Linked DNA regions of Homo sapiens: regions 2 and 3 are each linked to region 1. The links are contacts of gene promoters, found by promoter capture Hi-C in blood cells and fetal thymus (Javierre and others, 2016). All regions are on one chromosome and are shown on one strand. The core of a region is centred on a gene start or on the middle of the fragment in contact, and the rest is flanking DNA. Distances in the headings are between cores, read along the strand shown.

Region 1 (4,624 bases), core at 188-2,687:
CAGTCCCACCCTTTGCAGGAAAAAACCAGGGTGTTGTTCCCCGCCCCCACGCGCGCGCGCGCACACACACATGCACGCGCGCACACACACACCATCTTCACAACCCTTCCAAGAGAAAACCTAGAGTGTGTGTCCGTTTGGGTCTGGGAGGGCAGGATACAGTTATTTCGGGGGCCCCAATCTTGCCTTTAGGCTCAGCTGGGAGAAGGCGGGGCCCCTGCAAGGCTGCCCGGGAACTTCGGCCCCGCGCCCCGCGGGAGGGCTAAGAGAGGGCACGCACACCTTTACCAGCTTCGGAACGGCCCAATTAATAACTAATTTGCTCAGATACCCCACTCCAAGTAGACCTGACAGCCAAGGAGGGACTGGCTTTCCCTCTCAGTCTCCTAGGCTAGGGGACTCCTTCCTGCGAGCGGGCAGAGCCCCCACTTCCTCCCCACCACCGCGCCAGGCGCCCCCACCCCGTGCCCGGAGGAATCAGGTGTCCTCCCGGGCATCCAGCCCCCGCGGGTCCCAGACACTTACTTCAGGGACAGACAATGGGAAAACTTGCAGCCAGTGCCTTGAGCCCCCGAGGGAAAGAAATGGTGCCGCCCCCTGGGACAATGAGCGGGGGAGATGGCGTGGGACAGCAGACACCCCCCAGAGAAGCCACCCGCCCAGTGACCCCGCAGAGCCCGGAGCAGCGCCCCGGGTGAGCAGGTGACACTCCGGCCGGGAGCTCCCGCAGGTGGCCGGTGGCCACACTGCAGGGAAGGGCCGGGTGCCCGGCCCGGGGTGGAGGCGAAGCGCGGCGGCGAGGTCAGAGCGCGGCGGCCGGCGCCGCAGCCGCACCCCCGGCGTCCTACCTTCATGTCGCTGATGATGGTCTGGAAGAGGCCTCCGAGCGCGCTGCATTCCTTCTCAATCACAGCCTCCATTTTCCCGGCTCCGGCAGGGCGAGGGCACACACGCGGGGCCGCTGGACTGCGCGCGGGGCCGGGGCTCGCTCACCCCAGAAGGAATTTCACCTTCCGAGAGACCCACCTCGGACTCGCAGCCTCTTCTGCAGCGAGGACGGGGTGCACCAGACCGACTGTTCTCTGCCCAAAATAATAACAGTAATTTAAAAAGCCAAACCGCTCTGTAGGGTATTCGCCTACAAGCAGCGCTCGGCTCCTGGCCTTAAAAATGCCGGGAGAAGACTGACAATCAGGCCACCACTGGTGCCCACTACGGAAACGGCAAAGCCCATCTTGATGCAGAGAAAATCGCCCGCTGACCCGGGGCCAGCGCCATTGAAAAACGCAAGATTTTCCAATTTAATAAATTTTTCTGCAATTAAAAAAAAATCGCCCAACAGCAGAGCGGGTCAGCTCGCGGCGTCCGGATCTGTTGCTCGCAGCTGCGGCCGCCGCCTCCTTTTCACTCCTGCGCGCCCGGCCCCGGCGCTCGCTCTGGCTGGGCTCCCGGGGACGTTCGGAGGGGCGCACGCGCGCTCGCGGCCGTGCCCGCCAAGCGGAGGCGCGCTCTCGCGGCCGTGCGGCCGCCGCACGCGGGCGGGGCTGGGAGCGCGCGCCCGAGAGGCGCGTGGGGCACCCGCCGCAAAGAGGAGCCTGCTGGTCTGCTGGCGGGCAGGCGGCGCTGGGCCGGAGCCTCTCCCTCCGGTGCGCACAGCGCACCCTCTCCTCCCCCGGCCGCCCGTCGCAGCGCGGAGAGGGCGTGTCGGCACCCTGCCTGGCGAGCGCCCACCCCTACAATGGCTGCGAGCGCGCGGGACGGAGGGTGCACCGCCGCTCCCCGGGGACTTGCACGGGTGGCGCGCCTAGCCCAGAGCCCGCTTGTAGTGAGCGCTCAGTAGGGCGGGAAAGCTGCTGCCGCTACTGCGGCCTTCTGAGAAGACGCCCATTCTCTGATGTCAGGACTGCATCGCCGAGTCCTGATTGCAAATAGCGAAATATATAATTAAGGAGAGTTCGGGGGCGTATCCTGCAATGGGATGCCGAGTTCGATAAAGTTGCAGGATGCTGGGAAAGTGGATTGATTTGCTGTTGCTAAATGAATGGAAACAGCGTTAGAGCTTCTGTCCACGATCCATCAGTCTATCGAGATTGCTGATTGCCTATGACTTGGACGGTTGATGGTTTTCAGGCCCACTGAGAGCAGCCAGCGTTGGTATAACCGCAGGGAGCCCTCCTGGGAGGTTGAACCTGCAGAGCGCAAATGTGCCCAGGTTGATTTGGGGCCTAGTGGTCCATTTTCACAGCTCCACTGCCTATCTGCATAACCAGGAGCCCTCATTCAGATGAACGCCAAATGGGCCAGAGGGAGGAGAATCAAATGAGCAACTTTTAAAAGATATTAAGACATAGGCACCTAACTCCGGACAGTTCCTTTAACCCTTGAGCTAACCATTTGAAGCACAAAACATAACAAAAGAAAAGACTGGGGGGAGTGGGGCCAAAAGAAACCAAGTGCAAAATTCTGTACACTTGTGTCAGATTCACTCCGTAATGGGAAAAGGTCTGGCTTTGAAAACTTTATGGATCAAAGGGATGCATGGAGTTACACAGCACAGCTGCAGAAGATAATGTTCCCCTGGATCACTCTGCCCAACTCTTAACTGCAACCCACCTTCCCCATCCGTCTCCCCGAAATCACCCGGAAGGGTGTTACCTTCAGGAAGTAACTGATCTCTTGATCACCCCTGCTGGATCCTGTCCCCAAGGGCGTTCGAATGCATCCGACTCATCTTCACCTTGCCAATAACGGGTGCTTGACACATCGTTTGCTGCCAATCATTATTGTGATTTTAATACTATTGGTATTCTAACTATCAAGATGACTGCTTGTAGAGCCAGATTGCCTGGATTCAAACTCCAGTTCACAACCTACTAACTGTATGCCTTTAGGTATGTTACTTAACCTTTCTGGGCCTCAGTTTCCTCATCCATCTGTAAATGGGGATAATGATGGCTTCTACCTGATAGGGCTGTTCTGAACATTACATGAGCTGATCGATGAAAGCACTTCAAGTGGTACCTGGCATCTCGTAAGTAATCATTCGATAAATCTTATCAACAGAAGAAGCAGGGATGAGGCCAAGGCTCAGGTCCAGCCCTGGCCCCATTTCACTTCTGTAACATTGGTGTGCTGTCCCAGGCACATTGCTGAGGGTCTACTGTGTGCATTCTGGGCATTTTATACGTATTATGTCTACTTGAAGGAAATTATCATTCTGGTCCTTGTTGCACTGTTGGAAGGAATCCAACCCTGGTTTTCTGACTTCCATGCCCCAGGTCTCTCTTTTACCCAGCCTCCTGAACTCCTGGGATAAGGGGCCTTAGCCCAGTGGACACTTGGTCTAGCTTTCCTGCCACATGCTTAAATTTCAATGCCCCAAATACCCCAACTTTAGCAATGTTTGCCAAAGCATACCTCTCTTGTGGCCTTTTTCCCTGGGCCTGACCACCAGGCCCTTGTCTCTCATGAGAACTCCTTGAAAGGGAGGCTGGAAAAGTGTTCCCAGATGCAGGAAAGTGGGAGTGACACCTGGCAATTTTTTTTTTTTTTTTTTTTTTTTGAGACAGGGCCTCACTCTGTCACCCAGGCTGGAGAGCAGTAGCGCGATCTCGGCTCACTGCAACCTCCACCTCTCAGGTTCAAGCGATTCTCCTGCCTCAGCCTCCATGTTGGTCAGGCTGGTCTCGAACTCCTGACCTCAGATGATCTACCCGCCTCGGCCTCCCAAAGTACTGGGATTACAGGCGTGAGCCATTGTGCCTGGCCAGCTGTCATACATTCTTTCCTTGTTTTCAGATTCTCCTTTGTTTCTGGCTGTTGGGGACTTCCCTTCTTTTAGACTGGCTCTGCATATATTTAAAGAGATTCTGATTACATTTTACCAACTGTGTCTACGTGGCTATGGCAGGAGGGGTTTCAGGTTATAGAATCTGCCTCTGCGACAATAGGGTGTCCCGTTTTTGTTGTTTACATGATGAAATGTTGGGTTTTGTGTAATGTATAATATTTTACACTTTTAGGTAAACTCAGATGCCTCTGATGGATTCGAAATAACCAGATATATTTCTGAATTGCTTCATATGGTATGTAAACTTAAGGTTTTCTAAACTAATATCTTTTTCATGCTCTTTTATTGCTACTCTGACCAGACCCTTATCTTACTTATAAAATATATATTTTTCTCATCATGCTTATATGGTACAGAAAGAGCTAAGCCCCAGAAATACTGTTAATGAGAGGGAGATCAGGTCCTGGACAGTCTTGGTTTATAACTTGCAGCAGGGATATCTGTTCCCCTGAGAGCCCAGTTCTCCATATCAAGGCACTGCAGAAGTCAAATTAGTAGTCAGCAGGCAGCTTGGGAGCACATAAACAAAGCAAAGGAGATTGGATGCTCCTGGGAGGACAGGCGTGGTTTGGTACAAAGCAGGTGCTCAAGAAATGTCTCAGGAATGGAACCCAACCAGGTTCCTACCCCACTAGAGAGCAGACACAATGTCTTGGCGACCTAGAACCATCAGATACAGCCTCTCTTCCTCAAATAGTCCTGGAGAAATACAAAATATTATGACTTCTTTCCCCTTTCGGATCTTCCAACCCCGCTATTTGACTCCCATGATTG
Region 2 (4,465 bases), core at 1,470-3,969, 290 kb after region 1:
ACATGGTTTAAATTTTCATGTTTATTTTTTCTTTCGTTGCTTGTGCTTTTGATGTCATATTTAGGAAGGCTTTGTCCAATCTAAGTTCAAAAAGATTTACTCCTATGTTTTCTTTTTCTTTTTTTTTTTTTGAGATGGAGTTTCGCTCTTGTCGCCTAGGCTGGAGTGCGATGGTGCGATCTCGGCTCATTGCAACCTCGGCCTCCCAGGTTCAAGCAATTCTCCTGCCTCAGCCTCCCGAGTAGCTGGGATTATAGGTGCTCGCCACCGTGCCCAGCTAATTTTTGTATTTTTAGTAGAGACGGGGTTTCGCCATGTTGGCCAGGCTGGTCTCAAACTCCTGACCTCAGGTGATCCACCCACCTCAGCCTCCCAAAGTCCTGGGATTACAGGCATGAGCCACCATGCCTGGCCTGTTACTCCTATATTTTCTTCTAAGAGTTTTATAGTTTTACCTCTTAAATTTAGCTCTTTGATCCATTTTGAGTTAAATTTTGTGTCTGTTGAGAGGAAGGGGTCCAGCTTGATTTGTTTGTGTGTGGATATTCAGTTGTCCCAGTATCATTTGTTGAAAAGACTGTTTGTTCCCCAGTGAATTTTCTTGCCCTTGTGGTCAAAATTCCCTTGACTGAAAGGTAAGGGTTTCTTTCAACAATATTTTGTAGTTTTCAGAGTATAAGTTTTGCATTTCTTTTGTTAAATTTATTCCTAAGTATTTTACCTTTTTTGATACTTTTGTAAATGGAATTTTCTTAAAGAGGCAGTGGCATGATTAGACTTTTATTTCAGGAATATACTCTGACATTTTTGTGGAGGATGGTTTGGAGGAAAGTCTAGTAAAACATACACTAAGATTAATTATTCTGTCAATGATGATAAAAGGCCAGAACTAGGGTTGTAAAATGAAAGGTAATGAATAAATTTGGGTAATATCTAGGATGTAGAATGTAAAAAACGTGATGATTTGGATATTATAATGAGAGTGAAATCTCTTGATGTAAATTCCAGGTTTCTGGCTTAGATAGTTTTGCCAGCCATTTGCTGACATAGGAACAGGAAAAGGAGTTAATTGGGTTTTCTTTCTTTTTTCTTAGTTTGTCTTAAAGGTTTGCTGATTTTATCTTTTCAAAGAACCAACTTTTCATTTTGTTATCTTTTGTATTTTTTTCATTTCATTTATTTTGGCTCTGATCTTTATTATTTTCTACTAATTTGGGGTTTGGTTTGCTCTTGCTTTTCTGGTTGAGATGCACTGTTAGGTTGTTTATTTGATGTTTTCCTGCTTTTTTGATGTAGGCACTTACTGCTAAAAACTTTCCCTTTAAGTATTGCTTTTGCTGTGTCTCACAGGTTTTATATATTGTCTTTGCATTTTTATTTCTATCAAGAAATTTTTATATTTACTTCTTAATTTCTTCATTGACCCACTGGTCATTCAAGAGCATGTGGTTTAATTTCCATGTGTTTGTATACACAGTCTCCAAAGTTCCTCATAGTACTGATTTCTAGTTTTATTCCACTGTGGTCAGAGAAGATACTTGATATGATTTCAATTGTTTTTTGAATTTTTTAAGCCTTGTTTTGTGGCCTACCCATGATCTATCCTTGTGAATGATCGATTTGCTGAGGAGAAGAATGTGTATTCTGCAGTTGTTGGATGAAATGTTCTGTGAATATTTGTTAGGTCTGTTTGGCCTGTAGTCCAGATTAAGTCTGATGTTTGTTGTTTATCTGTCTGGATGATCTATTCAGTGCTGAAGGTGGGGTGTTGAAGTCTCCAGCCATGATTGTATTGGGGTCTGTCTCCTTAGCTCTAATAATATTTCCTTTATATATCTGAGTGCTCCGGTATTGGGTGCATATGTAATTGTTACATCCTCTTGCTGAATTGACCCCTTTATCATTATCTAATGACCTTCTTTGCCTCTTTTTATAGTTTTTGTCTTGAAATCTATTTTACTGATGTAAATATCACTATGCTCTTTTTTGGTTTCCATTTGCATGGAATATCTTTTTCCATCCCTTCATTTTCAGTCTCTTTGTGGCTTTATAGGTGAAGTGTGTTTATTTTAGGCAGCAGATCGTTGGTTCTTTTTTTAAATCCATTCAGCCACTTACGCCTTTCGAGTGGAGTTTAGTCCATCTACATTGAATGTTATTATTGGTAAGTGCGTACTATTGCCATTTTGTTTTTGTTTTCTGATTGTTTTGCTGTCTTTTCTTCCGTCCTGTTTCCTTTCTGTGAAGGTAATTTTCTCTGGTAGTATGTTTTAATTTCTTGCTTTTAATTTTTTTGCCTACCTCTTGTAGGCTTTTGATTTGAAATTACCAGGAAGCTTGCAGGTCATATCTTATAACCGATTATTTTAAACTGATGACAACTGATTCCACAAACGAGCAGAGAAAACTAATAAAAACTCTACACTTTATCCTCCTTGCTTTTTAACTTTTGTGAGTTTTGTACCTTCATGTAATTGCTTACTGCTCGTTAAGGTCCTTTTCTTTTAGATTGAAGAACTCACTTCGGCATTTCTTGTGGGAAAGTTTGGTGTTGATGAAGTCCCTCGGCTTTTGTTTGTCTGGGAAAGTCTTTATTTCTCCTTCATGTTTGAAGGATATTTTCACTGGATATACTATTGTAGCATAAAAGTTCTTTTCCTTCAGCACTTTCAGTGTGTCTTGCCCCTCTCTCCTGGCCTGTAAGATTTCCACTAAGTCTACTGCCAGACATACTAGAGCTCCATTGTTTGTTGTTTCCTTTCTCTTGTTGCTCTTAGGATCTTTTCTATATCCTTGACCTTTGGGAGTTTGATTATTAAATGGCTTGAACTAGTCTTGTTTGGATTAAATCAATCACCAATCCTTGCTTGGTGTTCTGTAGCTTTCTTGTGCTTGAATATTGATATCTTTCTCTAGATTTGGGAAGTTCTCTGTTATTTTTTCTTCAAATAAACTTTCTACCCTCATCTTTCTATCTCCTTTTAAAGGCCAAGAACTTAGATTTGCTCTTTTGAAATTATTTTCTAGATCTTGTAGGTGTGCCTCATTCTTGATTATTCTTTTTTCTTTTGTCTCCTCTGTGTATTTTCAAATAGCCTGTTTTCAAGCTTACTAATTCTTTCTTCTGCTTGATCAGTTCTACTGTTGAGATTCTGCCATGTTCTTCAGTAAGTTAATTGAATTTTTTATCTCCAGAATTTCTGCTTGATTCTTTTAAATTATTTCAGTTGTTTTGTTAAACTTACCTGATAGCATTCTGAGTTCCTTCTCTGTGTTGTCTTGAATTTTGTTGAGCTTCTCCAAAACAGCTATTTTGAATTCTCTGAAAGCTCACATCTCTGTTACTCTGGGATTGGTCACTGGTGCCTTATTTATTATTGTTAATTTAGTGAGTTCATGTTTTCCTGGATGGTTTTGATGACTGTGGATGTTCACCAATGTCTGGGCATTGATGAGTTAGGTATTTATTGTGGTCTTCGGAGTCTGGGCTTGTTTGTACCCATCTTTCTTGGGAACGCTTTTGAAGTATTCAAAGGGAAGTGAGTGTTGTGATCTAAGTCTTTGGTCATAGCAGCCGTATCTGTATTAAGGGGCACCCCAAGTCCAGTAACATTGTGACCCTTGCAGACTTGTAGAGGTACCGCCTTGGTGGTCTTGGGTAATATCTGGGAGAATTCCCTGGATTATCAGGAAAAGAACTCTTGGTTCTCTTCCCTTACTTTCCCCCAAACAGAGTCTGTCCTTCTTTGTTGAGCTGCCTGGAGCTGTGGGGGACGGGTGACACAGGTATGCCTGTGGCCACCATGACTGGCGTGTGCTGAGTCAGACCTGAAGCCAGTACAGCACTGGGTATTGGTGAAAGGCTTGTGGTGATGACTGCCTGGTCACCGCTGATGTTCCCTCAAGACTCAAGAGCTCTACAGTCAGCACAAATCCAGCCAGGCTTGTGCCCTTCCCTTGAGGGCAGTGAGCTCCTGGGGGCCCAGGACTGGTCCAGAAATGCTGTCTGGGAGCCAGGGCCTGGAGTTGGGAAACTTAGGAATCTACTTGGTGCTCTATTCTACTGCAGCTGAGCTGGCACCCAAACCTTAAGACATATTCCTTCCCACTCTTCCCTCTCCTTTCCTCAAGCAGAAGGAGCCTCTCCCCATGGCCACCAGTGCTCCAGGCCTGCAGTGAGTACTGCCTGGCTGCTGCTGGTGTTCACTCAAGGCTCCAGGGCTCTTCAGTCAGCTGGTGGTGAATGCTGCCAGACCTGGGTCTCTCCCTTCAGTACAATGGGCTCCCCTCTCACCCAGGACGGATCCAAAAATGCTGTCCAGGTGCCAAGACCTAGAATCAGGGACCCCAGGAACCCACTTGGTGCTCTGTCTCACTGGCCAAGCTGGTACCCAGGCTGACTTTTGGTTCTTATGAAGGTGCTTTCCTGTGTGGGAGGGGGATGATCGCCAGAGGACTTGCTTTG
Region 3 (4,788 bases), core at 2,076-4,575, 310 kb after region 1:
ATCAATGTGAGTAGACCGGATGGAGTTCCCCTGGCAGGGTGACTAAGGATGGACACACCTGTAATTGCTCTAAACAAGGAGGTATGCCCTGACTTGCTTTACAGAGAAGGGTGAGCAACCATTTCCCATCTCTATTAGGGCGATAAGAGGAATTTGGTAATGTGAGGTTTAAGTTAGGTTTTGTGACAAGAAGTCCCACGTAGTCCTGGTTGGTCTTCTGTACCTTGTACACTGCTCCACCGTGGAGCAGATAAACTGGCCAATCAGCGCCAGGAACTGCTCGGTGTACCGGGAATGGAACTGCTTCAGCAGAGTGAGCAGTCCCAGGACAAGTGGTGGCCAATCAACCGGGTCGGTCGGTTTTCGGCAGACCATTCCTGCAAGGGAACAAGTTGCAACACCATATGAAGTACTTGCCTTCAGCAACATTCATTAAATACCAACGCTGTGAAGGTCAAAATGTTTGGGGCCCATATTCTCGCTGGCAGATGATATTTTGGAGGGAATGACAATTCTGGGCCATATTTTGAATTAGCCACAGGATTGGTAGGGCATTCCAGGGGTCTGAAGGATTCAAAACCAATAAAACGGTTACTAAATTTTGTAATTATCATTACTGGTTCTTTTGAATTACTCAATTAACATATATTATTGTAGCAATTTTTAAAGATACAGATAAATGTAAATGAGAAAAAAAATCACTACAACTGACTTCTGTTAACGGCAGCATGACATACTAGATACCCTGAACTACTATCTTAAGTGAAAAGCTGGATAAAATACTTTTAGGGTATCTTTAAACAAATGTTGAGTAATATATATACATAAAGAATCTGCAGAAATCAAGAGAGTGGAAGAAGGATATTTATGAAGTGAATGAGTATCAAAGCTGGCCTTTACACTAACGATTTTTTAAAAATTGGAGATGGGGTCTTGCTATGTTGCCCAGGCTGGAGTGCAGTGGCTATTCGCAGGTGCAATCACAGCACATTATAGCCTTGAATTCCAGGGCTCAAGCTGGGACTATAGGTGTGTACCACTGCACCTGGCTCTACACTAAAGATTTCTGCCAAAATGTGGAGACCCTGACCTCTGCCTGGGTGGCTGCATGGGAAACCAGAGACAGAGATTAGGGTCTTCCAGAAGAAACACAATGTTGAAAAAGAACAGTGTTGGGAAGGTTTAGGTTGCCTGATTTCAAGCTCTCTATACAGTTTCAATAATTAAGACACTATGGCATAAGAACAGACAAATAGATCAATGGAACAGAATAGAGTCTAGAGATAGTCCCACCCTTCTATGAGTAATTGAATAGTCACAAATATACCAAATAATAAAAAAAGATAAATCTTTTAACAAATGGTACTGAAACTGGATAGTCTTATGGGGGAACGACAAACCTTGACCCCTATCTCATACTGTACACAAAAAACAATTAGAGATGAACCACTGGCCTCAATGTAAAAGCAAAGACTACAGAACTGTAAGAAAAAATATCGAAGATATCTTTGTGACCTTGAAGAAGGCAGAGATTTCTTTTTTTTTTTTTTGAGACGGAGCTCACTATGTCACCTAGGCTGGAGGGCAGTGGCACAATCTCGGCTCACTGCAACCTCTGCCTCCCAGGTTCTAGCGATTCTCCTGCCTCAGCCTCCCAAGTAGCTGGGATTACAGGCGTGTGCCACCACGTCTGGCTAATTTTTGTGTTTTTAGTAGAGACGGGTTTCACTATGTTGACCAGGCTGGTCTCAAACTCCTGACCTCAGGTGATCCTCTCGTCTCAGCCTCCCAAAATGCTGGGATTACAGGCATGGGCCACTGTGCCTGGCCTGGCAGAGATTTCTTAGACAAGACAAAAAAGAATAATTATAAAGGAAAAAAATGGATAAACTGGACACCATCAACAGTAAAAACTTCTGCTCATTAAAGTTACCAGTAAAAAAATACATAGATAAGTCACAATATTCTCAAAACATATCTAATAAGGAACTTGTATCCATAATATATACATAACTACTACAACTCTGTAATAAAAAAAAAATTTAAAAACGAGCATAAGACTAGAACAGGCACTTCGCAGAGAAGGATATAAGGAATGGCCAATAAGCACATGAAAAAGTGCTCAAAATCATTAATCATCAGGGAGGCAAATTAAAGCTGCAACAAGATACCATAGATACCCATCAGGATGGCTAAAATGGGCTGGGTTCAGTGGCTTATGCCTGTAATCTTGGCACTTTGGGAGGCCAAGGTGGGTGGAACACTTGAGGTCAGGAGTTCGAGACCAGCCTGGCCAACATGGTGAAACCTGTCTCTACTAACAATACAAAAATTACCCGAGCATGGTGATGCATGCTTGTAGCCTGTAATTCCAGCTACTCAGGTGGCCGAGGCAGAACTGCTTGAACCCAGGAGGTGGAGGTTGCAGTGGGCCGAGATTACGCTACTGCACTTCAGCCTGGGTGACAGAGTGAGACTCTGTTTCAGAAAAAAAAAAAGAATGGCTAAAATGAAAATGACTGACGCCACCAAATAATGGCGAGGATGTGGACTACACATATACTCACTCTTGGTGAGAGTGTAACTGGCACAACCACTTTGGACAAAGGGTTGGCAGTTTCTTATCAAGTTAACTGGTTAGACAGACCCTCAGGTCCCATATTTGACTTCTTGTGAAGACCGGAAAATCTTCCCCAAACCAGAGAAGCCTAAACAAGTGATCCTGAATAACCTAACCTAGGCCTTGGCAATTCAGAACATGGAGGAAGAATCCTAACAGGACTCAGTATGGAGAAATAATCCTTTCCAGGTGGAAAGCAAGAGTGATGTTAACAACAAACACTTCTACAACTAGCACTACACCACGAAGCTTCTTTCTTCAAACACAGACCAAGCCAGGTATGCATTTCATAGGCCAATGCTGAGAACGGTGTTTACAAGGTTAAATAAATGTTTTTCGGATATACAGTTTCAAGGCTCTCTTTACAGTTTCAATAATCAAGACATTATTGGCATAAGAAAAGACAAACACATCAATGGAACAGAATAGTCTAGAGATAGTCTCACCCTTATATGAGCAACTGAATACCCACAAAGATACCAAACAATTGTTCCTTCCTCAGTCCTACTGTAATTTAGTTCCTGCATTAACACATCAGTCTTATTGATGAGAAGAATTATAGTCAGTTATAAACACCACATTTCTAGGATACATAAAGATTTTGTTGTGTTATGTTTTAAGATCTGGGAATTCCAGGGAGAGTGATACTTTCCATAAGCAGCTTTACAATCAAGGTGCCAGGCCCTAATCATATACACAATGAAAAAAAAATTAGAATGAGAAGTCAACAAAAAGTTATTCTTTAATGAAAAGAAGGTTCTTTCTGCACTGACAGTTCATTATCAAGAATCATATATTCCTATTGAATAATAACATAGAACAGAGAGAGAACATGAATCTCTGAATCTTCAGATGAACCTTTACATTACACTTGGGATGGCCCTTTAAATTGATTTTGACCAATATATAGAAAGGGACTCAGCACCTGTTGGGCACTCAGTTTGCGGTGACTTGGCCAAAGTCACATAGGTGATAAGTGGTGAAGCCAGATTCCAAACACACATTGGTTCCCTCCCTCCTACAGCAAGTATTGTTTGAGGAGATCATGCTCTGCCTTCTGTGACAATCACAGGCATTGTCATGGAAGCAGTGTCTAGAATCAATGATTACTTTTGAATGAGAGAATAAAAACATTAAAGAGATTCCACATTTTCACCCTAAAAAAGCTTATGAAATAGGAAAGTACTGTAAGGAAGAAATATATTTAGGAATCTCTAGTTAAGAAACAATGATTACATTTGTAGAAATGCTCTTATAATGCTTTTAAAGTAAACTAAAGTCTATAGTGGATTTTTAAAAATGTCATTTAGCTGGATACAAAGTTTGAAGGCAGAGGAAACACTTTGTTATCTATTATGTAACTACAAAAATATTCTGACGAATGACAAAAATAAATTAGGGTTATATTCCTGGAGAGAACAGACATATTGAAAGGCTTTGGTGTCTCTTGTTTGTACAGAATATTCTGACATACAATCATACATAAAGTATTAAATGTTCATGTATAAATATTAGTCTTATCTCCTTAACTATATTGTTACTTTTCCCATCATGGTTCCAGATACACAGCTGGCACATGCATCCTGTTGAAAGAACAGAACATCAACCAAAAAAAGTTTCTTTCACACCACAATTAGCTGCCTAAACATTAAAGAAGAGAATCAAAACAAAGGTCCCTCACATTCTACAAGCTGGACAATGAACCCTTACTGAGGTAGACCATACTTTGTTGATTTTAAATCCACTGTCTAGGGCTGGGCACAATGGCTCACGCCTGTAATCTCAGCCCTTTAGTTGCCGAGGCAGGTGGATCGCTTGAGCCTAGGAGTTTGAAACCAGTCTCGGCAACATGGCAAAACCCTGTTGCTACAAAAAATACAAAAAAATTAGCTGGGCATGGCGGTGTGCACCTATAGTCCCAGCTACTCAGGAGGCTGAGGTGGAAGGATTCTTGAGCACGAGAGGTCAAGGCCATAGTGAGCTGAGATTGTGCCACTGTACTCCCATCTGAGTGACTGAGTGAGACCTTGTCTCAAAAAATAAATAAAATAAAATAAATAAATAAGTGTACTTAAAAAAAAAATAAATCCGGCCAGGTGTGGTGGCTCATACCTGTAATCCCAGCACTTAGGGAGGCCAAGGTGGGCGGATCACCTGAGGTCAGGAGT

Evidence for each region. The method cuts DNA at HindIII sites, captures the fragments that hold promoters and counts their contacts. A CHiCAGO score of 5 or more calls a contact.
Region 2: a fragment that was not itself captured here is called in contact with the fragment with the promoter of MTSS1 in region 1 in 2 of 17 cell types (erythroblasts and M0 macrophages); the score reaches 6.0 in erythroblasts.
Region 3: a fragment that was not itself captured here is called in contact with the fragment with the promoter of MTSS1 in region 1 in 2 of 17 cell types (naive B cells and megakaryocytes); the score reaches 6.6 in naive B cells.

The regions. Positions count from the first base shown.
Region 1 is chr8:124,727,036-124,731,659 of GRCh38, forward strand. MTSS1 (MTSS I-BAR domain containing 1) reads right to left here and starts at 1,438. Exons shown (of 14, transcript NM_014751.6): 1 at 849-1,438. The coding sequence starts at 920. It overlaps LOC105375741 (a long non-coding RNA gene), which reads left to right and starts at 1,504. Exons shown (of 3, transcript XR_002956670.2): 1 at 1,504-3,031; 2 at 4,023-4,085. The HindIII fragment of the contact is 14,334 bases long and covers 1-4,624 here.
Region 2 is chr8:125,013,239-125,017,703 of GRCh38, forward strand. The region is part of intron 7 of SQLE (squalene epoxidase); the gene reads left to right. Among named protein-coding and RNA genes, the nearest start is that of SQLE, 17 kb to the left of the region's middle. The HindIII fragment of the contact is 771 bases long and covers 2,335-3,105 here.
Region 3 is chr8:125,032,018-125,036,805 of GRCh38, forward strand. It overlaps WASHC5 (WASH complex subunit 5), which reads right to left. Exons shown (of 29, transcript NM_014846.4): 27 at 224-377. Among named protein-coding and RNA genes, the nearest start is that of WASHC5-AS1, 6.3 kb to the right of the region's middle. RefSeq lists an enhancer at 1-776. The HindIII fragment of the contact is 917 bases long and covers 2,868-3,784 here.